Regions from separate parts of the Homo sapiens genome. Here regions 1, 2 and 4 are each linked to region 3. Evidence: promoter capture Hi-C in 16 types of primary human blood cells and fetal thymus (Javierre and others, 2016). All regions are on one chromosome and are shown on one strand. Each heading gives the region's core, a stretch centred on a gene start or on the middle of the fragment in contact. The rest is flanking DNA. Distances are from core to core; before and after follow the strand shown. Region 1 overlaps NCK2 (NCK adaptor protein 2). Region 2 overlaps NCK2 (NCK adaptor protein 2). Region 3 holds the start of TGFBRAP1 (transforming growth factor beta receptor associated protein 1). Region 4 overlaps NCK2 (NCK adaptor protein 2).

What was found. Contacts are between HindIII fragments. The CHiCAGO score rates a contact against its expected background, and 5 or more counts as called.
Region 1: a fragment that was not itself captured here is called in contact with the fragment with the promoter of TGFBRAP1 in region 3 in 1 of 17 cell types (neutrophils); the score reaches 8.5 in neutrophils.
Region 2: a contact is called between a fragment that was not itself captured here and the fragment with the promoter of TGFBRAP1 in region 3, in 1 of 17 cell types (neutrophils). The highest score is 5.3, in neutrophils.
Region 4: a fragment that was not itself captured here is called in contact with the fragment with the promoter of TGFBRAP1 in region 3 in 3 of 17 cell types (monocytes, megakaryocytes and neutrophils); the score reaches 5.9 in monocytes.

What each region holds. Positions count from the first base shown.
Region 1 is chr2:105,812,332-105,819,017 of GRCh38, reverse strand. NCK2 (NCK adaptor protein 2) reads right to left here. Exons shown (of 5, transcript NM_003581.5): 2 at 2,405-2,588. Among named protein-coding and RNA genes, the nearest start is that of NCK2, 71 kb to the right of the region's middle. RefSeq lists enhancers at 6,016-6,516, 6,517-6,686. The HindIII fragment of the contact is 5,530 bases long and covers 2,279-6,686 here.
Region 2 is chr2:105,792,892-105,799,823 of GRCh38, reverse strand. The region is part of intron 1 of NCK2 (NCK adaptor protein 2); the gene reads right to left. Among named protein-coding and RNA genes, the nearest start is that of NCK2, 51 kb to the right of the region's middle. The HindIII fragment of the contact is 4,654 bases long and covers 1,229-5,882 here.
Region 3 is chr2:105,324,947-105,332,043 of GRCh38, reverse strand. It overlaps TGFBRAP1 (transforming growth factor beta receptor associated protein 1), which reads left to right and starts at 2,309. Exons shown (of 12, transcript NM_004257.6): 1 at 2,309-2,419. C2orf49-DT (C2orf49 divergent transcript) reads left to right here. Exons shown (of 2, transcript NR_187479.1): 2 at 1-515. RefSeq lists a silencer at 1,995-2,424 and an enhancer at 6,898-7,097. The HindIII fragment of the contact is 18,854 bases long and covers 1-7,097 here.
Region 4 is chr2:105,756,229-105,762,377 of GRCh38, reverse strand. All of the region lies in intron 1 of NCK2 (NCK adaptor protein 2), which reads right to left. Among named protein-coding and RNA genes, the nearest start is that of NCK2, 14 kb to the right of the region's middle. RefSeq lists enhancers at 1-355, 1,247-1,326. The HindIII fragment of the contact is 3,292 bases long and covers 217-3,508 here.

The DNA.
Region 1 (6,686 bases), core at 3,794-6,293, 480 kb before region 3:
AACACGACGAGAACACTAAGACACTTAATCCTATCCTTATTGCATATTAATCTTATGCTGTTCTAAATACCACACATCAAAGGGGCATAACTGAAATTGAAAAGGTTCCAAGAGATTTTTCTTTTAAGGTGGTCGAAGAGAAAGAACATATTCACAAGATGTGTTTGTAGTAGTAGCAGACCAAGTAAGAGGAAATTCTAACTTTTAATATTAAAGGAGAAAATTTCCAGAAACCACCACACCAAAAGATTCCATAGTCCAACATGATAGTTTCAAGATTACTTTAAAACAATCTGCAAATAATAGAAGCAAATTAAAGTTTTTTTATACAAATGTCCACTGTAATATTCTCATTTGCTCTTCATACAACCAGAAGACATATCACCTAAAAGTTGGACACCAAAACTAATTTAGGTTATGCTTTGATTAAAATTTGGTTTGCTTTCATACTTGATTTAACAATCTTTTCTATTTTGTTCTGTTAAATATACCATGTTGGAAATATATATTTCTTATAAGCTGATAGTAAGATGTACAGGAAAAATCTTACAGTATAAGGAATAAAATCTTTTTATATATATATATTTTTATTACACTTTTAAGTTCTAGGGTACATGTGCAAAACGTGCAGGTTTGTTATATATGTATACATGTGCCATGTTGGTGTGCTGCACCCGTTAACTCGTCATTTACATTAGGTATATCTCCTAATGCTATCCCTCCCCCCTCCCCCCACCCCAAAACAGGCCCCAGTGTGTGGTGTTCCCCTTCCTGTGTCCAAGTGTTCTCATTGTTCAATTCCCACCTATGAGTTAGAACATGCAGTGTTTGGTTTTTTGTCCTTGCGATAGTTTGCTGAGAATGATGGTTTCCAGCTTCATCCATGTCCCTACAAAGGACATGAACTCATCACTTTTTATGGCTGCATAGTATTTCATGGTGTATATGTGCCACATTTTCTTAATCAGTCCATCATTGTTGGACATTTGGGTTGGTTCCAAGTCTTTGCTATTATGAGTAGTGCTGCAATAAACATACGTGTGCATGTGTCTTTATAGCAGCATGATTTATATTCCTTTGGGTATATACCCAGTAATGGGATGGCTGGGTCAAATGGTATTTCTAGTTCTAGATCCCTGAGGAATCGCCACACTGTCTTCCACAATGGTTGAACTAGTTTACAGTCCCACCAACAGTGCAAAAGTGTTCCTATTTCTCCACATCCTCTCCAGCACCTGTTGTTTCCTGACTTTTTAATGATCACCATTCTAACTGGTGTGAGATGGTATCTCATTGTGGTTTTGATTTGCATTTCTCTGATGGCCAGTGATGATGAGCATTTTTTCATGTGCCTTTTGGCTGCATAAATGTCTTCTTTTGAGCAGTGTCTGTTCATATCCTTTGCCCACTTGTTGATGGGGTTGTTTTTTTTCTTGTAAATTTTTTTGAGCAAATTAAAAGTTTTTAAGGAAAGCTAGTGTTATTCTTGCAGTTCATTCTGAGACAAAGCTCTGGAGGTGAAAATGTGTCTTCTCATAAAGCACTTCTTACTGCCCAGCCAGAAAGAGAACACCGGATTAACTGGACTACAAACAGCAATTCATATTTTAAGTTAAATGTCTTAAGATGTTAGGGCTAAGAAATATTTTTGTTGCACAGTGACATGTTTTTGTCTGGTGCCTGTGGTGATAGCACCACTGGGTCCCAGAATCCACATGTTGCATCACAGTTATGATTTTATTGTAACATACACAAGTAGGTTTTTCATATGAACAGGTAAAACCTTCCTGAGAATCCTTCATCTGTCTGCATCTCATTTGATGTAGGTTTTTTTTTTTTTTTGAGACCAAGTCTTGCCGTGTTGCCCAGGCTGGAGTGCAGTGGTGTGACCTTGGCTCACTGCAACCTCCGCCTCCCAGGTTCAAGTAATTCTCCTGCCTCAGCCTCCCGAATAGCTGAGACTACATGTGCACGCCACCATGCCCAGCTATCCTTTGACACAGATTTATCTTCTCAGCATCAAAGCTGGAATCCAACTTTTCCTAGACTGAAAGCACCAGAAAAGTGGTTATTTATCCTTATACTCCCTGTCCCATACAGAATACAGGGACCAGGATTCGTTATGGATTCAAGAGTCAGTAATATCTGAGTGTGGAGGTACCTGTACCATCTTACAGGTTGTAGGTGTCTACCATCCTGCTTCCTGGCTACATACTCAGAACCATCACACACTAAAGCAGGAACAGAGATAATCTAATTTTCTCCCTCATTGAAAGCTTAAATTTAATGTGATTCAACAAATCAAGGCTACACTGACTGATATTTTACTAAACTTACTGTCCAAATTAAGCATTTGAAGCAAAAAGCTGCAACTTCTGTTTTAAGCAGAAAACTGCAGACTTACCTTTGGCACACAGTTGAGAGGTGACTGGCAAAACGCAGAACTCTTCAAAACGATGATGTTTTCAGCTAATTACACCTCTGAAGTTACAAAGCTGCAGGGATTCTCCAAATCCTCAAATCCAACTCAAATCTCAGCAGAGAATTATAATCTGGGACGTCGCTTGTATACAAAGAACACATGAAATCTAAAAAGAAAGAAGCATATATTAGGTCTGCTTGCTTCTTTGATTTTAAGTAACCACTTTTAAAAATAACTGGTTATTTATTTGCCTAAAACTAATGGGTTTTTTTGTTATTTATTTATTTTTTTGAGACAGGGTCTCCTCTGTCACCCAGGCTGGAGTGTGGTTGTACGATCTTACTTCACGGCAACTTGCACCTCCTGAGCTCAAGTGATCCTCCTGCCTAAGTCTCCCCATTAGCTGGGACCACAGGCATGCCACCACCCCTGGCTAATTTTATGTATTTTGAAACCAATGTTTTAAATATATCCCAGATTAAAGCTGCTCTGTGCCTAAAGACCTCCATCAACACACATGTACTCCCTCTTCCCACCTTTCATTCCCTGGGCAAGCTCCGACACTCGGGTTGGGGAGGGCCAACCACACACCCGGTGAACAGCAGGTGGAAGGAGGTGATGGGGTGTGGGGGAACAGCCAGCCCATAATCAAGGGACCTGAGCTCCCAGTCTCTTCCAGACTTCCTCCTCCCAATGAGCCCCACCTTTAAAAGCCTCCCAGAAATAAAAGGGAGTCTGCCCATTGGAAAGGTGGCCAGTCTGAGAGTCTAATGACGGAGAAGGGTTACAAAGGGCATGGATATTGTTTAGAGACTCGTTCCTCTCTTGGAGGTCTGTTGCACCAGCCATTTGTTGAGAAGCCACCAACCGGACCCATAGCCTTGGGCTAAAAAGCACCCCTAGTTTCAAGACTTCTGAGACGAACACTCCAAAACTAGAAGGAAGTTAAGATGAGAGGCACCTGACAAAGGTGACCAGCGCCCTCCTGGTTGTGGAGAGCTGGCAGCTGCGTTATGTTCACTGCACTTGGTAAGTATTTTCAGTCCTTGACTAACGTTTTCGAGGGGACCCTGGAGCACTCTGTGGACTTCAAGTGAGTTCACTGACATTTTTAATTACATTTCAAACCCAATGGGGATCTGTCTTGACAGTTCACTCACAGAAGATCTATTAATTCATCCCTAGCATGATTATGATCCAAAATGTTAAATACCCCATAGAAAAATCGAATTCTATTTTAGTCAAAGATAAGAAGATAATTCAAATAGGGCTATCATAAAAATGTTATAAGGCAAGTTCATAAATTTTGATTTAAAAATTAATTCCTTTTTATGTATTCTCTAGCACTGTTTTAAAGGCCGCATCATTTTAATACAGATATAATTTAAGGCAAGGAAAAGGTGATGGCCAAACACAGTGGGAATACATCTTTGGGCAAGAAGTTCAAACGTATACTAGGCAGATTGCCCTTCTCTCTGTTAAGTGTTTATAATAAAATGACAGGTCCTCTCGAGATGGAAGTATTGGAATCTGAACTCAGTTCTTGACCAAGAGTTCTTGTTTCTCATGCTGACACCACTGAACATCAGCAAAGGGCAATGTGCTGGGTACCATGCCCCAAACACCACCTCTGTATGTGTCATTTTCAGGGGCTATTATAAACGTTAAGTTGTGTTGTTAAGATTTTAACTGGGAAGTGAATTTGCCCAGAGTCTGCCTTCCACAGGCAAATGCAAGGAATTGTTTTATGCAGTTGTTTGGGCTGTCCAAATACAGGCCTCCCCCCTGTGTGCCCTGTGTCTCATGAGTAATATGATTTAATCCTTCTGATACACTGCCAGGATGGATTCTAATGCCCAAATGTACAGAGGAGTTCACTTTCTCAGTGACACTAAAGGTTTTTCCCAACCGACTGGAGAGTGAGGAATCACTTAGGCCTTGGACTCCGGATGAGTGGGCTTTGCACATCTCTAATCTCTTCTGCATGCGAACAGAGGAGAGACTCCTTATGCCAACAGCAAACCAAAAGCCTGAGCAGCTTCTCTACCAGACCCCGCAAAAGAACAATGAGCTGGATTTAGAACTTGAGTCCTTTGATACTAGGCACAGTGGGCAAGTCAGAACACGGCCTCTCCAAGCACAATCAGTAAAGGAAAAGCCAGACAGAACGGAGCAGGACTTGAACTAATGCAGCAGCTCCAACAAAAGTGAGGCTACTGAAAATCCATTGAAAGGTGCCAGTGGCCATCTGGGATTCAAGTGTAAAACGTGAAGGTTGCATGCGATGTTTTCCTTGAGAAAAGCATTCCACTGACAAACTGTCAATGTGTTAAGTGTACACCCTAAGTAGAATAAAACATGGTGGTCAACATCTCTCTCTCTGGGTTTAAATGAAGACTGCCCAAGTTTAACATGGGGCTCTTAGCTTATTCAAAACCTGTGTTAAGGAAGAGCATTTCAAAGCAGGTCTTAATTATAATCAGTGATCGAAATCCATCAGGAAAGTATACACTTTTGTGCAAAAAACAGTATCAGCCTGAAAGATAAACACCTATACGGTCACTTGGACTGTAGAAGGCCCTCACCAAAGGATTCAAGGATTTTCTACAGCCAGCTTCAGGACAGGAATATACAGAAGGAGTGTGTGCTTTTCTCTAAAAGTACTTCACTAGCACTACGTGCATCTCCCTTTAGAAATAAAGGAGGGAGGGCTGGAAGGCAATTAACACTGATACCGTACGTATCTCTTCATTTTAATGTGGATCCTTAATACTACAAAATTTTACCACTGCAAAATCCAAGGGATTATCTGAATTCTCTGTAACCTTAAAATTTGCTTTTTTTCCACTAAAGCCACAACCCAGGGTTTTCCAGTGTTTTCAGCAGCACTTAGCTGCAGTGTTGGGCGAGTGTGCTGAGCACTGCCAGGCCACACTACTTGTCCCAGGCGCAGGGCCAGGCAGTGAGATGCCCCCCTGCAAGCAGTCGTGGCCGATTCTGCATCCCCAATGCCTGTGTGGTGCTGGCGCAGTGTCTTCTGCTGCACCTGGGCTGGTTTCCTCCAACTATCAGCATCTGAGAGGGAAGTCCAGTGATGAGGTCCCTGACTAAGGCAACTCCAGAGGAGCAGTTCAGGGTTAAGAAGGGAGTTATGAGCCTTGTTCTGATGACAGCCCAAGGCTGTGAGCTTTGTGGACATAATACCACTGGGTGCTGTCACTCAACCTGTTTTTGAGGTGGCCTATTTGTCCAGAAAACTGAAGTCACCAAGAGACTAAAGTCAGCCTTCAGGAGGCTCAGGGAATCCCTCCTCTCCCACTGTCCAAATGATAGAAACGGTGACAGGCTGGGAGAAGAACATGTTCTGATTCCAGTGAGACACTCGCCGTGGCTTCACCTTAGCATCAGCTGCAAGAATCGTCACAGCAACCCTGGGAGATACATCTTATCATTCAGCCCAGGAACCAAATGACCAGATGTCTCACAACCAGAATTTGAATGCACACTTGTCTGATTTTAAAGCCAGAGTGCTCCTTCTCCTGACAAAGATCACCACGAAAGGGCTAGAACCTTGACAGTCGCATTCTGCAAATCGCATCTGCTGATGCCATCTGTCTGGGGTATCTGCCACCCTGGGTGGCCGGCTCCAACCTCTCAAATCAGCTAGGAACCATGTCAGGCTACATCAAGAAGCAAGCCCATGAATGTACACACACCAAGTTTGTTTTCAACGTTACTGCTTCTCTTAGATGTTAGCACAGGAGGGAAAAAAAAAAAAAAGCCTTGTTGAATAGTGTCACCTGGCTTCAGTAATGAGCAGATGTTGGACTCGGGTGTGTATCATAACCAAATCTAATCTGTGTTACACATGGAGAGAACCACTCCAGATCCCTAGTCTGTAGCCAGAGCTAAGGCAATTGTCCTTTTCCTTTTATTTAAAAAGAAAAACAAAAAAGCATGGATTAGCATAGGCCTCAGAGCTCTCAAATGCCTTGTCTTACCCTTCCCTCCTCCCTCCCTGACCAAGGAGGCCCAGCAGAGGCCTGCAAGTGGATCTCCCGTTCAGAGTACGGAGGCGGCAGTGCCAGCCCAACACAGCACGGGGTCAGCGCTGTCTGAGGGAATTCTGGCAGAGCTAGCTATATTTCATTCCTAGTGAACCACTTGGAAGAGAACCTTATTCAAGTGGGAAAAGGCTGGTTTCAGATACTGAACAAAGCTACACAAGTTTCTTTGAGTGGTTTGGCCAAAGTTCAACCCATGT
Region 2 (6,932 bases), core at 2,306-4,805, 470 kb before region 3:
GGAGGGGAAGGCCAGGTAAGGACCAATGGCTTCTTGAAATGGATCTATCTTAACCACTTTTAGGCTTGAGGTAGAGGGAAGCATCCCTCCATGCCAAAACAACCCAGTGACCTCTGGGCTGCTATTGTACCATTTATGTAAACATGGTAATTAGCTTTTTATAGGCTTTCATATAGTGGTATTCCGTTTTGTTTTTCTGCTTTAAAATAGGAAGTTTTCAAATAACTCATCAGCTCGTGTTTGGTGTGGCAGATAGACAGACTAACGAAACACTAGGAAGCAGGAACATGGGAAACAGACCCAGAGGCCTCTGGGAATTCAGTGTATGATAAAGGCACTATCTCAAGTCAAGTCCCCAGGGAAGAGACAGCCTTCTCAATAAATGGCCATGGGGTACTCTGGTTGGCCATCTGAAAGAAAGCTGGAGCCACATCTCACGCCCACAACAGGATAAATTCCAAAGGTATCCAAGATTTACAATGAAAAAGTAAAAGTATAGAAGGACATATGGAAAACACCCTTTATAACCCTGAAGGAAGAACTTTTTTTTTTTAAACCTAGGACTCAAATTCCAGAAACCATAAAAGAGGGATGAATTCAACTACATAAACATAAAAAATTTTCTTACATGATAAAATATACCACAGATAGATTCCAAAGACAAATAAAAAGCTAGGAGAAAACATTTGCAACTTAGGACACGAAGGACAGACAGGACACAGCGAGAGCTTCTTAAATAAACTTGACACAAGAAAAGACCAACACACCAAGAAAACCGTGGGCCAAGGAAAACCAGGTAAGAAAATATAAGGCCTTCAAACTGATGAAAAGGGACATCTGAACTTCACTAAAATGATACTAAGATATCACCTCTCACCTTTCAGACCACTGGAGATCAGAAAGTGTGATGACAACAACCTGGTATAACTTCCTGATTTTCAAAACTGTGCTGTGGTTAAGATGTTAACATCTGAGGAAGCTCGGTGAACAACTCAGAAAAATAAGGTAAGAACATTTTGTATTAATTTCCCTAAATGTATTTATCTATGAAGAACCACAGCTACTGCTTTGCTGCCTGGTTCATCTGCTTCAAAATAGACACCCACAGTTTATTTTCATTCTGTTGAGATTCACCGTCCACATAAACTTAATCACCAGCAACCTCAGTGGGTTCACCACAGGCTTCCCCCATCAAAGTAATGCATACATTTTGTCTTTACTCCAAGCTTACATGTATCTTTGGGGAACTTCACTATTCATATCTGATTATATGAATCAGATATGGAAGATGAAAACAATTTTAACCCTTATTTCTTCTCTCTAAACCAGACCCCAAACTGGTTCACTGTTTAAAGTGTACAATTCAGTGCTTTTTCTCATTGTTAAAAGCTAGACTTGTGGACAGATCTCTTCATTTTATAAAAAGAAAAAAGGAGAACACTGAAAGAAGAAAAAAAAATGACTCAGCTAACCCAGTTTCAAGAATATTCTGGATGTACAAACAAGAGGCCACAGTGAGGCTATCCGGGCTCCCAGGATAGGAGGGAGGCTTCCCTTGAAGTATGGTTTTGGCTAACTTATTTCTTACCTACACGTTACTCTTTCAAATACATTTTTTCAACAAAATCATCATATCAGAAGAAAACAAACATTACAACAAGCGAACATTAGCTCCTACTCCTTTCATAGAATATTAAATCCTAAAGATACTTATGTTCAAAAACACATCTTCTGGAAGTAGGGGATGATTTAATATTGAGTCTAAAATAGATGGATCAAAACCATAAATTAATAAAAATGTGGTTATAATTTTCTTCTCCTAGGAAATGAACCAAATTAGATCACTATAGCTAGTCAGCCCACAGTCAAACCTGACTTGGGACGATTAAACACTTAAAGATCTGCTGTTAGTGCCGGTAGCTTAAAAAAAGTTGCGAAGCCATAAATTAACAAGCAGAGTCCACACCAAATTGCTGAAAGGGTTTTTTTTCTGTGCCAAATTTACAAACTGGTTTTCTAGAAGCATCTTGTTTCTACAGGAGGACAAAAGCTGACAGGAGGCCACAACATCAGGTGTTTTGTTTTAACTGATCATGGTTACGAAAGACTTTGCATCAGCTCACTAAGCCTAAACAGGGAGGCTCCACACAGTCGCTGCAAATCCAGCCACTTCCTGCCTCACTGTTACCATACTCATCTCCAAAAGGCCACACAGGGACTCCAACCAGACCAGGCTCCACGCTCCATTCCAGCCATCCTGACCCTAAGACGCTGTCAAGAGAGCAGCCTCCCTCACATGGGTGCAGAGAATTTAAGAACCTCCCTTCTGCTAGCCCGCACAGCCTGGCAGCCTGCTGCTTGGCCATACTGGTTTTTTCCCCCTTAGAAAGACCTGGATACCATTTCTGCCCTTGCATTGCACAATATGGAACCGCATGGCTGGCAGTCTCTTCCGGTCCTAGAACTGTGAGTTCAACACACACCACCCAGAAATAGCACAAATTGGTTATTTCCTGTGCAGAAAAGAAAAATCAGCCAAGGCTTCAGAATCCCATTTTAAAGGTTCCCCTTAAAACACTAGTATAGGAGCTGAAATAGGGGTGTCCTTTCTAAGATCCTGAATTTGGCCAGACAGAAAGGATTAGAAATCAATGTCAACTTTTTTCTTGTGGGTGGGGGAGATGCTGAAAGAAAAGATGGTGGTACAAACTGTGAGTCAAAGGCCTAAAAAGGATAATAAATTTTTATGTCTTAGAGACATAAAGTTAAAATAAAAAAGGGACTGTGATGACTAAATCCATTTCTGCAAGACTATGCTTGTAACCATCATCACAGCAAACACTCACCCCAGCTAGGGGTACTGAACCAACCACAGATAAGTGCTGACACTTACAAGTAACATGCTTAATAAAATTTATTTTATCAAGACAACTCCTGAGAGGGCAGACTAACCTGTGAACTGTCACCACTAATGTCTATAAGTGTTCTAATTATATATATTTCCTTTCCATGGAATCAAATGTATACTGCATTTACCTGCGTCAAAGAGAAATGCTTAGTTATTTTTCCAATTCATTTAATTTATCTGATAGAGGTATGAGAAAGTACAAGGGAAAAAAAAGAAAGGGAATAAACATGATGCCGAGAGCTTCTGGAATAACACTAAACTACGGGATACTCTTCCTTGCCAAATGCAAAAGGAAGAAAAGCACCATCTCCAGCCTTCCAGCTCCCAGGCTCAGTCCAGACGCTGCCGATCTGAACACCTGCGTTCTGTGCCACACACTCATGTCCCCAGGCCCTCTCTGCAACCGGTGCCAATAATACCCCATGTGCTCCCTGCTCCAATGCCCCCATTCATCCATATTTACATACATGACCCTTAAAACAGCAAAACATTGAATTGTTCACTCCTCTTTTTAGTGGAAATTGAATATTTCTTAAGATCCTAAAGTGAGGCAACAGGAAGTACAGAGATAAGATAAACTGACACTAACCTCCAGCACTCTCCTGTGTGCCATCAATGACAAAACAGCCTTGCAAGAGCAGCAAAGCCACCACTCTGCCCACCAGCCATATATACTTACACACGCCTGCAAATGATTGTCTTTCAACCCTGAAGCCACAGTGCCCAGAGGGCGGCCAATACAGAGACTATCAACCTCAGTCACTTTCAACCCTGAAGTTGGTATTCCATGTGCATGCACCTAATAAAATTCTGTCTTCTTGGGACCTGTATCATAAAGCAGAATTAGCTTTCCAAAAAAAGTTTGACTGCACATATGATTTATACCAGAGCAAACTACAATAGAGCTTTCAAATGCTAAACTGTTTTGCTCTTTTTACAAGACTGGTAATAAAGAATATATCGTTGATGTGTTTCATTTTAAATGATTCATGTTTTCCTAAAGTCCTAGATGTAAATACCTAGTTTTACTGAAAAAGACTGGGGGGAGGGTGCGTGGAAGATGAGAGGAAGCGGCGAAGGAAGGAAGTTAGGGAGGAGGGAGAGGTCTAGAGGGAGGAATAATGACTCAAATACCTGGTTGAACATGAGCAGTGTTTCTCACCAGGGGCATACAGACGTTTCGGTAATTCTTTGTCGTGGAGCTGTCCCCTGCGTTGTAGGATGTTTAACAACAATCCACACCCTGCCTAAATTGGTGACAATCAACAACGCCTGCAGACACTGCCTGCTGAATATCCCTTGGGGAATGAAATCACCCTGGCTGAGAACCACTGACGGAGCATACATGTAAACTAAATAGACCAAGTTTGTTAAAGCAAAAATAAGACAGGAATATCCATGTATTTTCTAACTCTTTTGGAATATGACTCAAATATTTATGCAGCAGTTTTTATAATTACCCGTTTCAAAATAACTAAATAAACAGGCCCATTCAGTTTAACTCAATATCATGATTAAGTTACAATATACCATATAATTAGAAAACCACCTTTGACCTCTTGCTTGGGAAAAGTGTATAGAGTATGCTATTGCTTATTTGAGGAAAAAAAAAATTAAAAATATATCACTGTATACACATATGTGTTTGCTCACATTAAAAAGCAATAATTATTATTATACATTTGTCCAAACCCATGGAATGCACAACGCAAAGAGTGAACCCAAATATAAACCCTGGACTTTGGGTGATTGGTTTTTGTCAGTGCAGTTTCACCCACAGAAACAAATGCAGCACCCTGTCGGGGATGTTGCTAGTTCATGTGGGGGAACTGGATATATGAGAAAACTCTGTACCTTCTGCTCAGTTTTGCTGTGAAACTAAAACTGCTCTAAAAAATAAAACTTTTTTTAAAAAGCAAGAAATAAAAAGGGGAAAGAAAAAAACATCTTTAAAAAATGGTGATGGAAAAGAGTAGGGAAAAAAGAAGATAGAGAGAGTAGTCATACAAAATAATCATTCTCTGGACATAACCATCTTTGGCTGCGGAACCATGCGAACAGTTTAGATAATAAACTATTCGGGAGGCTGAGGCAGGAGAATCGCTTGAACCCAGGAGATGGAGGTTGCAGTGAGCCAAGACTGCACCACTGCACTCCAGCCTGGGTGACAGAGCAAGACTCCGTCTCAAAAATAAATAAATAAATAAATAAATAAATAAAATAATAAACTATTAACTTTTTTAAAGTCCAAAAATTAAAAGCAGAATGAAACAAACTAAACTATAAATTGAGTTGGTGGCTTAAGTACAGAGAGGAATTATCCTGAAAGACTTTGAAATACAATAATTGGACTGTATTTCCCCTGTGAGATAAACCCTAAGGACAAAAACATTTTCTGTTGTTTTCAGTACTTATATGGTTTGCAATTATATTGGTGGGGTTATTTTAAACATTTATATATATTGTATATAAATAAAACACACAAGCAAGCAAATAAGTCATTACGTAAACGATCCTAGGGACAAAGATTTTCAGCATAAAGGAAATATAAAATCAAAGGATTCAGCCAGGCATGGTGGCGCATGCCTGTAATCCTAGCACTTTGGGAGGCTGAGGCGGGCGGATCACTTGCGGTCAGGAGTTTGAGACCAGTCTGGCCAACATGGTGAAATTTTAGAAAATTCTTCTAAAAACACAAAAATTAGCCAGCGTGGTGGCAGGCGCCTGTAATCCCAGCTACTTGGGAGGCTGAAGCAGGAGAATCACTAGAACCTGGCAGGTGGAGGTTGCAGTGAGCCAAAATGGCGCCACTGCACTCCAGCCTGGGCGACAGAGCAAGATTCCGTCTCCAAAAAAAAAAAAAAAAAAAATCGAAAGATACAATATTTTAGAATCCTAATTTTGAGTTATAAGTATCAATGTGAATTTATAATAGATTATGTTTAAAAACAAACCACACCAAAGAAAAAAAGCTTTTATCCACTGAAAAGGCTCAGACACAATGACCAAACCAGAAGCAACCCATAAACAGTAGTGGTCCCCACAGTTCTTTGAAGGCACGCAGACCCCAGCTGGGGTAGGCACTGTCTAAAGGAGCCTGAAACCCCCACAGCTCCCTGCTTTCCGGTGTGATTATTAAGGACTACAGGCACGTGGCAAGAGAACACGAAGGCCACCTAAGGCAGCTTTCGCTGGCCAAGGCTGGGGCAGCCTGAGCAGCAATGAGGGTGTCAACTGCAGTGGGTAAAAATACACACAAAGTATCTTAAATCAGAGTTCCACAATTGCTACTCAAAACAAAGAAATAAACAAATTCATTGCTCACTTTGGTGGATACTGGGGAACCAGAACTATTTACTCTGAAAACTGCCAAATAAACTTGTTAGCCAGTGCAATGCCTACATGACCTAGGTGAATTTCTACCCTGCCTTAACTCTACTTGTCTCAGAAACAGGATGCCCGAGGTCAGAAGTTCCCTGCCTGACCAGACCAGCTGAAACCAGTGGGATCCAAGATGGCAGCTCACCTGACCTCTGAAGAACCTTTAACTTCATTATCATCTAATTTCCATACTAAATGACACTCCCACTAGGACCATGACAGTTGACAATCACCATGACAATGACAAGAAACCATAAGGGGACAAAAAAACAGGCAGCACTCTGGTTTCCAGAAGTTCTCCACCCATTCCCAGAAAATACATGAATATTCCTCTCCTGGCTTTTAATGCCCAATCCCTTCATTAAAGATGTCCTACATCTGTGGCTTCCCACCTCTCATGGACTGAGAAGCCAATTTGCGAGCCACACTGCCACTTCTCAATTCCACGGCCATTATATAAAGCCTGCACTGCTTGATGCTCACCTTCAGTTTCATGGGTTGGCTTCATGACACAGGACAGGAAAGAATCCCACCATTAGGGAAAAGCTGACTCGGTTGGTGAGAAAGGGAAAGACTCCCATCTAAACTGCACGTCGGGGTAATAGCTGACAAGTACTCTCCTCACCTGGCTAGCAAGTGCAGA
Region 3 (7,097 bases), core at 1,060-3,559:
GAAAGATACAGCAGAGAGCATAGACACAATCCTTGCCCTCCCAAGCGTATACCCAGCGAGAAAGTGAGAAGCACAGAGTATGTGTAAGCATAAAAATACTAAGTTTTGAGAGTAGACAGCAACTATGAAAATATTCAGTTATATCGATGCAACTCAGTCTTCATTAATTGTTCTCATCGGAGCACATCTTTTTCACATTCTGTAAAGTAACGCTCGGTATGGGCCCAAGGAATATTTAATAAATATTTAAAAATGAAGTTAATAATTGTTTTGAAAGCCATATGGTTGATATTTCTTCTTAAATGTAACCAATAGAAACAACATAAGGAATTTGGCCTGTGCATATATTTGCACATTTATGGTACAGGCATTTACATGGAGGTGCCTGTCATTTGTGACACAGACTTCTCATCAAGTTTCAGAAGGAACAGATGTTTCTAGATGGAATAATATGGAGCTTGCCATTGTAAGAATCCTGTAATAAATCCTTTCATAAAATAAATATATCTGAATTATCTCTTGTTATACATTTTCACTCCTGGATCATCTAAAGTAGAACACAAAGATTGTTCATAAACTATTCATTCAAAACAACTTTATATAAAAAGAATTACTGTTGCTGAATTCTGGATTCTTATTGTTGCTCTTTCTTACTAGCATGGGGTTTGGGACAAGTCACCTTTTTAAATTTTTTTATTTATATTTTCCTAAGTGAATTAACACAGGAAGTCATTCACCTTTCTTTGCCTCAAAGAATTAAATTTATTCTTTGACGCTATTAAGTAAATTAATAGCGTCTACTTCATTGCTCAGTCACTAGCAGTTTCTGAAGTCACTGTCTGGCAGTCAGTAGATATCACCTCTGTAACTAGTCTTGTGCAGCTCTCTGTGATGTGATCTGGTAGAGGACTAAGATACAAAAGCACAAGGGTGAATTCTAGGACCACCTGAGCCAGTGATTAGTTGATGACAAGTCACATAGTCTCTGTGAGCCTGGGTAAAATGAAGAGACTGGATTTGCTCTTGTACCTTCCCAATCCCTGGCTCCACTAGCTGTTGGCCACCTTAGACTTGAAGGTCCATTCACTGCTGCTTGCCCTTGAAGCTCAATTGCTGGTCAGAGCTTTACACTCCTGGGAAGCCAGTCCCCTACCTGGAGGCTGAGCCGGTGACACTGGTTCCACTGGGTCACAGCTGAAGCACCACTGGGGATGGGGCATTTATGTGGCCATGAGTCACACTAGGGTAGGGGTAGAGGGCAAGTCACAGGAAGATTGTTGGGTTTTTTTTTTTTTTTTTTTTTTTTGGCCAGTTTCTTTTCTTTCTTTTTTTATCCCTTTGAAACAGAAGACCATGGCGTACAATCTGGTATCTGCCTTCAGGGTTGGGATAATATCTTTGTTTTACAATACTCAGAGTGGCTGGAAGAAAGCTGAGGCCACAGGTCACTAGCAGGTTCTAAAGTCTGAAAATCCCTGGGAAAATTTGACTTTTTATATGCTAATAATTGAGTACTGACAACTCTGGAGGGAGCTTTCCAATTCTTCCGTCATGAAAGTGGACTTTGTATACTAAAGAGGGGTTCATGGATTCATGGTAACCTACAATTCTTCCTTGCGGCCTGAACCAAAGGAATAGCAGCTACAGTTGGGTTTTCCTAAAAGGAGTAAGATAGTCCCAGGCCTCCCTTCTCAAATAAGTGTATCAAGCAGGTGGACTCTGCCAGTCGGGGGTCCCGGTCAATCCCTAGGGCCCTGGGGCGCCATGGGCCTCGTGGGAGGGCTGCGCATCCCAACCATGCCTTCGTCTCCTGGTGGGGCACCGGCGGTACGTCCGATCCTCCAGCCCGCGTGGTCAGGCGGCCGCGGGCCCAAGCATTTCCCAGGGCCCAAGCATTTCATTCATTTATTCATTCACGCAGCAGGTATTTCCCGGGCGCCCTCCTCCTGTGTAGGTGACAGAAACTGGGTGGCGAGCGAGCCAGGCAAAGCCCGGCTTCCCTGAAGCTCCCCGCAGCGGCGGGGGCGGAGAAGAGACCTCAGCCCCGCGGGCTCGCACAGCTGGCGCGGACCACGCTCTCGCCCGGGGCCGGCGGCCTCAGCGCCCCCCGAATGAACACCTTCCGCCCGCTGGCCGCCCCGCGAGGCGGGCCGTGTCGTGGCCCCGGTGCACGGAGGGGGACGCCGAGGCCCGGAGCAGGGCCCGTCTCGGCCTGTGCTCGGAGCCAGGCGGCAGGGCCCGCGGGCCGGCGGGCGGCGCGGAGACGGCTGCGCTCCCGCCCTCCGCCAGCGCCTGGCGGCCGCCCCACGTGACGGGAAGCGGCGGCTGCGGGGTCGGGCCAGCCCAGGAGCCGCGGGCCGGAGCGGGGCGGCGGGGCCCCAGGCCGCGGGGCGGCGCGGGACGGCGGGCGCCGGCGCCGGTGAGTGAGGAGGGCGGCGGGGCGCGGGGTGCGGGGCTCAGGGCGCGGGGCGCGTGGGGCAGGAGGGCGGGGAGCAGGAGTGGGGGGTAGGCGGCGGGGCGGGGTGGAGGGCGAGCCCGTGCGTGTGCGCTGGGGCAGGTGTAGTGGGGGCTGGAACGCGGGGTGGGGGGAGCAAGTGGCTATACACTTGGGGGCAGGTGTGCGGGTGTGCGACTTGGTAGCTGTCCCTTGTGGGGGCCGGCTAGCCTGCTGGGGTGAGCAAATAAGTGTTCACGTGTGTGTGGGATGAAGTGTGCACGGGTGTGGGGTCAAGTGTGTATGTTGTGTGTGAGGAGTGCGTGTGTGTTTAGGGCAAGGGAAGACCTGAGAGACCTCGTCCTTGATTTGGGTTTTCCGGGGAGAAGGGCCAGGAAGGACTTGCACCTCCATCCCTGGTATGGAATGGTTTTGGCGCTGTGATTGAGGTTTCTGGGAGCTCTTTGGATTTGAGAGCTCAAATTCGGGTCACACTCAGGCCTGAATTGTCCTGATCTGGAGAGTAGGCAGGGGTGTGTTGGGGAGTAGGGAAAAGTGCTGTGCTGGGCTTCCTGGCCCCTGTTTTTAGCACCAGGTCAAGGGCTGGAAGCTGTCATCCCTGTGGAATTGTTTTCTTTCCATTGCCTTCTGGAGGTGCAGGTGCAAGTTAGTCCGCCTGCCTCCCTGTGTTAAGTGTTGATATCCTTAAACACGGAAGCTGTCCGGTTGTCTGCACCTGCCGTGGCTTCTACCCAAGGACTGTTGAGTGACCCTCAGGAAGCCTCCTACCTGGCTGCTAAAAATGGGGGCTCACAGATCACACAGCAGGCCTTACTGCACGTGGACTGCACGCGCAGCTGTGGTCAAAACATGTCTGAGCAGAGTTTAATCACTGATGAAGTGCTCATGGGCAAGCACCTTGTCTATCAGGAAGGAAGGCAGCTGCGGGTGTGATTGTGGTGGCAAGTTAAGGCACTGAGAAGGTGTGCAGGGAAGATCCTACTGCGTTGTGTGTGTTGGCTTGGTTGGAGTCAGGATGAACGAATGTAGAGGGACTGTGTGGTGGCTGCTACTCTCTCATGGTGGACATGCTTCTCTCTGTTGGTCAGCCGGAAGCTGGCAGACAACTGAGAGCTCGCAGTTCCATGGTCAGTCAGAAGGAACATTTGGTCAGCTGCTTCCTTTTCTTTTTCCTTCCATTTCTGCCAGCCGAGCAGCCTCAACAGTCATTGCAGCTGCTTCTGTGATGTGTAGCAAAACGCTGCCTGGAGTACTAGAAAGTCTACTGGCTGGAATCTGCTGGAACCTGTCCATAACTAGCCTGCCCCAGGTCATCTATGAAATGGGAGTGATGCTCTGTGGTGGTAATGAATGTGGAGTGTGGGTTCAAATCCTGCCTCTGCCATTTCCTGTGACCTTTGGGCAATTTGCTGGACATTCTGAGTCTCAAATTCCTCCATCAAAATAGGGATAATATTAGAAAAGGCACATGAATTCTAATAAGAAATTGTGCCTGGAAAGGATCCGGCACAGGGTCTGGCATTTAGTAGGTGCTCAATAAATTATTGCTGACAAATATAAATGAGGATGTAGAGCCAGGTCTCCCTCAGCTCTGAAAATATGTAGTTTTATGTTTTGAGTAATTGTTAACCTAACAAATGATTTACTCTGGAGTTAGACTTGTGGGTTCTGAATTCCAATTTGCTATGTGCATCAAGGTTTGCATTACACAATTGAATTGGGTGAGAGGTGAGGTGCCACTGTTAGCCTTCATTCACTCTGCCTTTTCTTCTACACTCATGATTGTGCATGGCAGTCCTCTTGTCATAGCATTGGAGGCAGAGCGTTTTCACCACTGCAGGAATCCCAGGACCAATCTAACCTCAGCTTAAACCCTCCAGAGACAGGGATTTGTAAAGGGCCCATTCTTCATTTAGGCAGCTCCAGTTGAGGAGTTTTAAAAGCATAGAGCTCACTATTTTAAAAATGCTATATTTTCTTTTTGTTGTTGTCTTCTGGGTGGTTTTTTTGCTGTTGTTTTTGAGACAGGGTCTTGCTCTGTCACCCAGGCTGGAGTGCAGTGGTGTGACCATGGCTCACTGCAGTCTTGATCTCCCAGACTCAAGGGATCCTCCCACCTCAGCCTCTCAAGTAGCTGGGACCACAGGCTCGCACTACCACACCCAGATAATTTAAAAAATTTTTTTTGTAGAGATAGGGGTCTCCCTGTGTTGCCCAGGCTGTTCTCAAACTCCTGGCCTCAAGCAATCCTCCTGTCTTGGCCTCCCAAAGTGCTGGGATTACAGACCTGAGCCGCTGCGCCCAGCCAAAAAACTTGCTGTATTTTCTGGGTCTGATATGCAGCTAACATTTCTGTTAGGAAAAAAAAAATGAAGTTATTTGGCTTATTCCTTCATGCTAATATTACAAATTTGTGATCTTTTAAGAAAACTTGAAGAAATTTTACTTAATGGGTTAAGTGTCTTCATCTTGGTCTGAATCCAGCCCTCATTAGAAATACATTAAAGTAGTCATTTGTGGCAGCCAGGTGTTTGGATACTGCCGAATAATTTGGCTCAGACTTTACAACTCATCTCTGTAGCAAACCTGACTCGTTTTTCTTTATTTAAAAAAATAAATACCTACTAAATGAATGTAGAGTAACAACTTAATTTGGTGCTACCCCAAATGACTTTAAGTGCCTCATGAAAAGTGAATTATGAAATCTTGCAGATGATTTGAAATCAAGATCTTTTCTTGATAGTCAAGTAACTGCTGTTGAAAAAGTTAAAGATTTAAGGAAAAAATCACATATTTAAAGATGACAACTGACTGGATATTATGGACTATCAAGTCCTGTAGGTACTCAATAATTTTTTTTTTCTTTTTTTGAGACAGGGTCTCACCCTGTCACCCAGGCTACAGTACAGTGTCGTGTTCTCGGCTCACTGCAACCTCCATCTTCCAGGCTCAAGTGATCCTTCCACTTTAGCCTCCCAAGTAGTTGGGGCTATAGGCACATGCCACCATGCCCGGCTAATTTTTGTATTCTTCTATAGAGACAGAGTTTCACCATGTTGCCCAGGTTGGTTTTGAACTCCTAAGCTCAAGCAATCCATCTGCCTCGGCCTCCCGAAGTGCTGGGATTATAGGCATGAGCCACTGCTCCTGGCCAGTACTCGATAATTTTTTGTGGCTGTTTGAAGGTTCAGTATTGAGGAAGATGTTATGAAGTAAATGCCATATTTCTATTCTGCTCTTCTTCTACCTCCCACTTCTCTTCCTAAACCCTTTTAATTCTAACTGCTGATGGTACTCTTATAGGATGTATATTATATATATGTACATACACACACACATACACCCTTATGCATATGTATGTATACACACACCATATATAGTATGTGTATATATGTGTGTGTATATAAATATATGTTTATATGTATTTAAATAATTTTGATTAGTATTGCCCAGTAAAAAGGATACCAACTATGAATAGTTACATATATTAAATATACATCATGATAATATTAAGATGACAAGTTAGATATTAGACCTTAACTGTCTTTTTTTAATCCTCTTTTTTTAGATACTCTTGCAGATTATCAGAGCAGGTTCATTGCACTATAACTAATCTTGCTGTCTCTGTTGCATGAGTGCAAAAGATAACATAAAATGGTTGTCAAGCAGTATCTTCATTTTCAAAGGGGGGAAAAGTTGACTTTTGTACAAGCCAGTAAATTTATTGTTGATTCCTGACAAATTTCAAGATTGAGTCATTCAACAGATGGCTGTGGGACTTAGAGAAGAACACGGGACCAGCATGGGGTGCAGCTCAGGAAAAGCAGTTGCTGTCACATAAATGTGTATCCTGTTTTGGTAGATTACTATGTTAGTAGAGAACTGTGTCAACATACTATTCTGTGTCTGAATTTCAGCAAGCAGATAGAGCCACAGGATTCCTCTTCTAGACTCACGGTGGGGAAGCAATAGCAAAGACTCCTCAGGAACTGCAGCAGCATGCCACTCTAAGTACCATAGTGGCCTCCTGCTGAGAGTTGTTGCTTTGTTCAGAACTGAATTCTAGGAGAGGATCTGAAATCATACTTGTTCCCCTCAATCAATAAGAATATGGCCTTGGAGTCACGAACAAAAACTAGGGTCAAAGCCCTGTTTCATCACCTTGTAGCCAGGTAACCTTGAGCAAGCCACCTAAGATCTCTGTATCTCCATAATAATGTCCACCTCTCAGCGTCAAGGTAAGAACGAAAGGATAATGCTATATCGAGTGTGCAGTATCCCACCAAACCCAGTTTTGGGGCTCTCCTGAGGGGGCAGTCAGGGTGTCAGCCAGGGCTGCAGCCTATGGGTGCCATCCATCATCCAGGCTTGGGGCAGCATTGGCCTTGGGAGCCAGTGTGGCATCTGATTAAGGATGTGTGCTTTGGAGCTGACTACCTGGGTTGGAATCCCAGCTCTCTACTTACCAGCATGACTCTTCCACCTTTCAAGACCTCCATTCCCTTCCTCTTCATCCAGAAGTAGCTGGAGAATGGTATAGGAGAAGCACACAGCCCAGTCCAAATTTCTGTTTTATAGAGAACACAGGCCCAGACAAAGCCTCTTAGTGAGTTGCCTAAGATCATCAGGAAGTGACCAAGCA
Region 4 (6,149 bases), core at 613-3,112, 430 kb before region 3:
GCTGTGAATCCCAGGAATGCCTGCTGATGTGAGGAGGCAGTCTGACAGCAGGAAGCGCCCGGGCCTGGACCTAGACCCCCCCTGGTTTGATGCTCTGCCCATTAGCTGCCTGTTTCCTCGGCAAGGCCTCTTTCAACTTGAGAGTTGAAGGAAATCTTCGGAGATCACCTGGTTTAAGCCCACTCTTACGCACAGAAACTGTGCTTCTCACAAGCTTCTTCTAAGGAAAACCCAAGAGCAGTGCATTCCACAAACTCTGTCCTTAATTTTCTAGCAAAGCGAAAGTCCTTGTTTTCAGGTCAAGTGATTCATCTACAGAAAGCCACCAAAACCCACACTTGCAACTGTAGTCAACGCAAAAACTTAGAAAAAGGACAAGATATTTTTAAAATGTATCAAAAATCCGCAGGACAAAAGAGAAAACATAAACTGTAACACAGAGGCAGAGATTGAAAAGAAAATAATGTTCAAAAGGGTCAGCGCACATGTCTGTATTCAGTCTTTTTTGGTCTCACTGTCATATAGGCTGGAGTACAGGGGCCTGATCACGGCTCACTGCAGCCTGGACCTCCCAGGCTCAAGTGATCCTCCTGCCTCAGTCTCCTAAGTAGCTGGGACTACAGGCACTTGCCACCATACCCAGCTCATTTTTTTGTATTTCTTGTAGAGACAGGGTTTCGCCATGTTGCCCAGGCTGGTCTTGAACTCCTGGGCTCAAGCAATCCTCCCACCTGAGCCTCCCAAAGTGCTGGGATTACAGGCATGAGCCACTATGAGCCACTCTGCCTGGCCCAGTCATTTTTTAATAAACAAAATGCATTATTATAAATTATATCTATGTGAATGAATACAACAGAGTCTCTCTCATCTGTGTATAATGGTTTGGGAAGGGTGGAGCAGGAAGTAGTGTCCCCCCACCTGGCCTTCCACCCAAGCCTGGAATCGTCCCATCACTAGGAGGGAGAAGGCAGTGACCAGAAAGAGAAACAGGCTAATGGCCTTAATTCTGACTTTTTCTGTACCCAAGAGAAAGGTGAGCCACTCTTCTCCCTCCCAAAAAAAGATTCTCTGGAAGTCAGTCAGCCAGGAGTTAAAATGACCACTTCAAGACCCTCCCCACGCCAGCTTCTGAGCCAACGCCTGCCCCGTCCATACCACCGCTCCCATACACACCCAAACCTCCCAGCACCCGGGTAGGGCACAACCCTGCTGCCCAGAAGAGGCCCAGTAGGGTGGGCGGGCAGGCACACCAGCATGGCCTCACAGCAGACTCTGGCCCCCATCTATGAGAGGAGAATGCCTTCCTCAGACACTGGGTCGGGACCACTTCCTGAGCCCAGTCACAGACCAGGGCTTCCTCAGGCGGAAGCAGGATGAGGGCCACCCAGATCCCAATCCCAAAGAAACTTCTTCAGGCCACTGCCCTCCCACTTCAACCAGGGAATGTGCCCAAGAGCTAGGGGTGTCCCAAAGCGCAAGGCATGACACATGTAGAAACTATGAAGATTTTTCGGTGATTTTTTATTTGCTCAAACCTGAACACAGTCCACGTGGGGTCTCGGTGTCTCTGCCTCTCTCTCTCTCTCACATGTGACAAAACCATTTTCAGAGAAGCCTGGCATCTAGGGACCTCCCTACTCTGGCCCTGACTGGCCTTTCCACAATAGGGTTCTCAGCTGTAACTGGTTTCTCCCTTCACTGGAACTCTGGGCCCACCAAAAGAAGGATGAAGTTATCCAGAAAGCAAAGACCCTTGGTTGATACAAAGGGAGCCTCAGATGGAGAGATCCAAGAGGTGGTCAAAACTGTGGGAGAAGTGGTTACACGGGGAGCCTTAGAGCTAGGTGCCACCAGCAGGGAAGAGGTGTGAACGGCAAGGATGGAGGTGAGGGCCTGACTCCTGGCCGGCACACCTGGGGTTCAAGTGCTAATCCACAGCAGAGGCTCTCAACTTTGAATATGCATCAGAATCACCTGGGGAACTCGTGCAACAGGAAGAATTCCAGACCAACCTATCCCACGCGGGAAGTCAGGCAGTTCCCCGGAATTTGCATTTCTCCACAGCCCAGGACCACATTCTGGAAACCCCATGCTGGGGCACCATCCTATCCTATCACCTCCTCCGCAACAGTGCCAAGGGGCTGTCTGTGCCACAGTGCCTTCTATCCCCACTGAAAATCTTGGTCCCTTTTGGGAGAATAGATAAATCTGTCAGATAGAATTCTAAATAACTAATGTAAATACAACCCCTACAGGAGGTACAGCTGAACTCCCTCTTCCTTAAATGACCTCCTTCCAAAGACTGCAGCAGTATGGAAAGAAGGGAAAAGAGTCACTTGACAGTGGAGTCACTTGACAGTGGAGTCCCCTGACAAACACTACCTGGGCCAGGTGATCAAGATCAACATCAACCATCATAAGCCACGCTGATCACATGGACCCTTGATACAAAATGGCACATTACCTCGGTGGCCTTCCTCCCCAAACCGGTAACTCTACACTAATCATGAAAAAACATCTGACAACTCTCAACTGAGGGACAGTCTACAAAACACCTGAAAAGCAGTTTTGCTCCTCAAAGCTGTCAAGCCATTAAAAACAAGGCGAGTCTAAGAAACTGTCCCAGATCAGAGGCGCTACGGAGACTAAAGGAAACGTGCCCTGGATGGGATCCTGGGACAGAAAAAGGATGTCAGGGCAAATAAACTATGGACTTAACAATAATGTACCAATACTGGTTCATTAGATGTAACCAATGTACTATAGTAACGTAAGATGTGAATCACAGGGGAAAGTAGACACAGTTTATATCAGAATTCTCTGTATTATCTTTGAAACTTTTTCTGTAAATTTAAAATCTATTCTAAAATTAAGCGCTTACTTAAAAATATATACCATATGTTTTATTATATAAAAGCCTGTATGCATAGGGTAACATGGTTGACTTTCAACAATAACAAATTACACTTTGGAAACGTTAAAACACTGTGCTCAACAAAAGGAAATAAATACCCCTATTGATCAGCTTAATACACGAACGTGAGGGTATTACATGGCTGAAATGCAATACAATTTTCTGCTTTCCCCAGAGAACGTACTATGTGTACTTGAATACGTAAAACGATATACTGCATGTGTTTATAAACAAACAAAAAATCTTGCTCCCTTGAATAAGACCAAATAAGGACTTAACACGTGAAATTCTCTCCTTCTGAAGGCCCAAGAACCAGGAATCTAGGTATTCGATCAACCTTTAAAATTTTATCAAACTCAGATCTTAAATTATCATTATTTGCAAATTAAGTTCATTCAAAACACTAAGCATTAATTATAGTCTATCACTAATTAACTATAGTAAATCACCAAAACCATTTTACTTTAATCCATGTCACCAAAAGCTAAGGGAAATGTCTGCTGGTTCAGTGTCAAATAGAGGACGAATCACTAATAATGATTTTACTAGTTTTGAATGCTAGCATTAATTCAGTTTCAGATGTTAAACAAAGCTTAAATGTAAACCCTGAAATCAGTTCCAACCTTTGGAAAATAGTTTTGTAACAACTTACTGTCAGAGCAGTACAGTAATTTGGGTACTGGGTAGAAGTATCAGTCTTGACTACTGTGTAGAAGTCAAGAATTTCAAACACTGCATTTAAAAAATACAAAAACGGGACGGGCTCAGTGGCTCAAACCTGTCATCCCAGCACTTTGGGAGGCTGAGGCGGGTGGATCACAAGGTCAGGAGTTCAAGACCAGCCTGGCCAATATGGTGAAACCCCGTCTCTACTAAAAATACGAAAATTAGCCGGGCATGGTGGTACGCACCTGTAGTACCAGCTACTCGAGAGGCTGAGGCAGAAGAACTGCTTGAACCCGGGGACAGAGGTTGCAGTGAGCCGAGATCAAGCGACTGCACTCCAGCATGGGTGACAGAGCGAGACTCTGTCTCAAAAAAAAAAAAAAACAAAAACAACAAAAACAAACATCTACAATGGAGTAAGAAATAAACTAAATTTCCAAACACAGTTCAAATGAAACCATCAATAGGATAAAACAAACCTGTAAAATGTGTGCACAGGATTGATGTGCAATATTCATTACTAATCCAAGAGAAGTAATGTGATTCAATTACTTACATCTCTATATCAAATGTGATGGCATAATGGCTTTATGCCATTATCAATTAAAAAAAAATAAGGAAGTATTAGTGTGCTACCTGAGACCTGCATTCCACTCAAAGCGCCAAGTAGTTTAACTCATTTTTAAGAGATAAAGCTCTCAAGCAATAAACAACATGTAAGTAGAGTTCACATTACCTGAAAATTGACCCACAAATCATGTGTTCATCCTAAGCAAACTAACTGAGCTTCATCCAGGCCCTGGAATAATAACACCCACCCTGGCATGAGAGAATAGAGGTGCTTCACCCCAGCTGTGGTGGAGACCTGGCTTACAACTGGCATGTGGAATGTCTCAGCTCAGGTGACAATTCCAGTATCTGGGAGTTGCCTGTGCACTGAAGAGCTTCTGAGGATCTTGAAGAAAATATTATCCTCCAGAATGCTTCAAATGAATTCTGCCTGGCCTTGGGGGTTGGGTTAGAGGTTAGAGGGGGACTTCCCATATGTGCTTCCCCCACCCAGAGATGGCGAAAGTTATTTTCCATACTTGTTAATTAAGATTACAGTGGACTGTGAGCTTGTAAGATCTCCACACTGGTTTACAGGCTCCCCAAAGGCTGGTGTTTGTCTGGTTTGCTGTGGTTTTCCCACGGCACCCAGCACAGTGCCTGGCCCATGGCTGGTCCTATGTAGGTATGAACTGCAGGTACACAACTGAGTGAAAACATAGCCAGGAGAACAGTCTGACCTGTCGGTGGCAGGATGAACAACGTAGCCTTTCTACATCTCTGCACCCATATACTTCCAGCCCTCCTAACTACACTCAGAGAAAAGCAACAGCAACATCAATTTACACATAGATCAGTTCATCCCATGCCACTTTGAAGAAAAAAAAATCCCTAATAATCAAGGACCTGTCCCATCTCAATTTTAACACAGCGAAAGTTGGGGCTATAAAAGGTTGTGAAAGTACATTACAGGCAACCCCTAGTTTCACAGAAGACAAAACAGAGGTCAGGAGAGTTTAAAACTTCGCTATGCAATTTTAGCCAAATTAGTAGCAAAGGAAAAGGAGACTCATCTCTATTCCTCGTAAGAATCAAGATTGTTGAAGTTCAGATTTACATGAGCCATTAATAAAGTTCAGAATGGGGCCAGGCGCGGTGGCTCACACTTGTAATCCCAGCACTCTGGGAGGCCGAGGCAGGCAGATCACCCGAGGTCAGGAGTTCAAGACCAACCTGACCAACATGAAGAAACCCCATCTCTACTAAAAATACAAAATCAGCCGGGCATGGTGGTGTATGCCTGTAATCCCAGCTACTCGGGAGGCTGACGCAGGAGAATCACTTGAACCCAGGAGGGGGGAGGTTGTGATGAGCCAAGATCGTGCCATTGCACTCCAGCCTGGGTGACAAGAGCGAAACTCCGTCTCAAAAAATAAAAAGTTCAGAATGATACTGTTTGAATCCAGCTCCCATTGTAATGGAAAGCCAAGCAGTCACTGCGTGAAGGCAAATGTTTTGAGGGACGAGGGGACTTCAATAACATCAATACAAAGCCAGAATGAAGTCCAGGACCTGCTGCTCTGGAGCTGGGCCATCCCACATACCACACTGCTTGGGCCTGACATTCCCCCATGGCCACTCACCACAGGACCCCAGTGGGCCAGTCAGTGTGCCCTGGTGAGGGACCCACACTTTCCTCATCTAAAAAAGGGATAATTAACAACACTGGCCTCCCTCTACCTGACAAAGTTAGAATCAAATGATACAAGGTGTGCAAGTAATAAGAGAAACACACATCGTTCCAAAGTTGCAACTTCAGAACTTTCCAGTCTGTGCAAAGAATTACTATTAATTTCTCACAGGTCTTTCTCAGTCCATATGAGATAGGATGACTGAAGAAAGGGAAAGATTGATTGTACTTTTAACTATCTCCACCAAGGAAAGCTCAAAATTATGCAAAGTGATGATTTCGTGTTTATCCTAGAAACAGCACAGGAAGAGAGGGGTAAGAAACAACAAA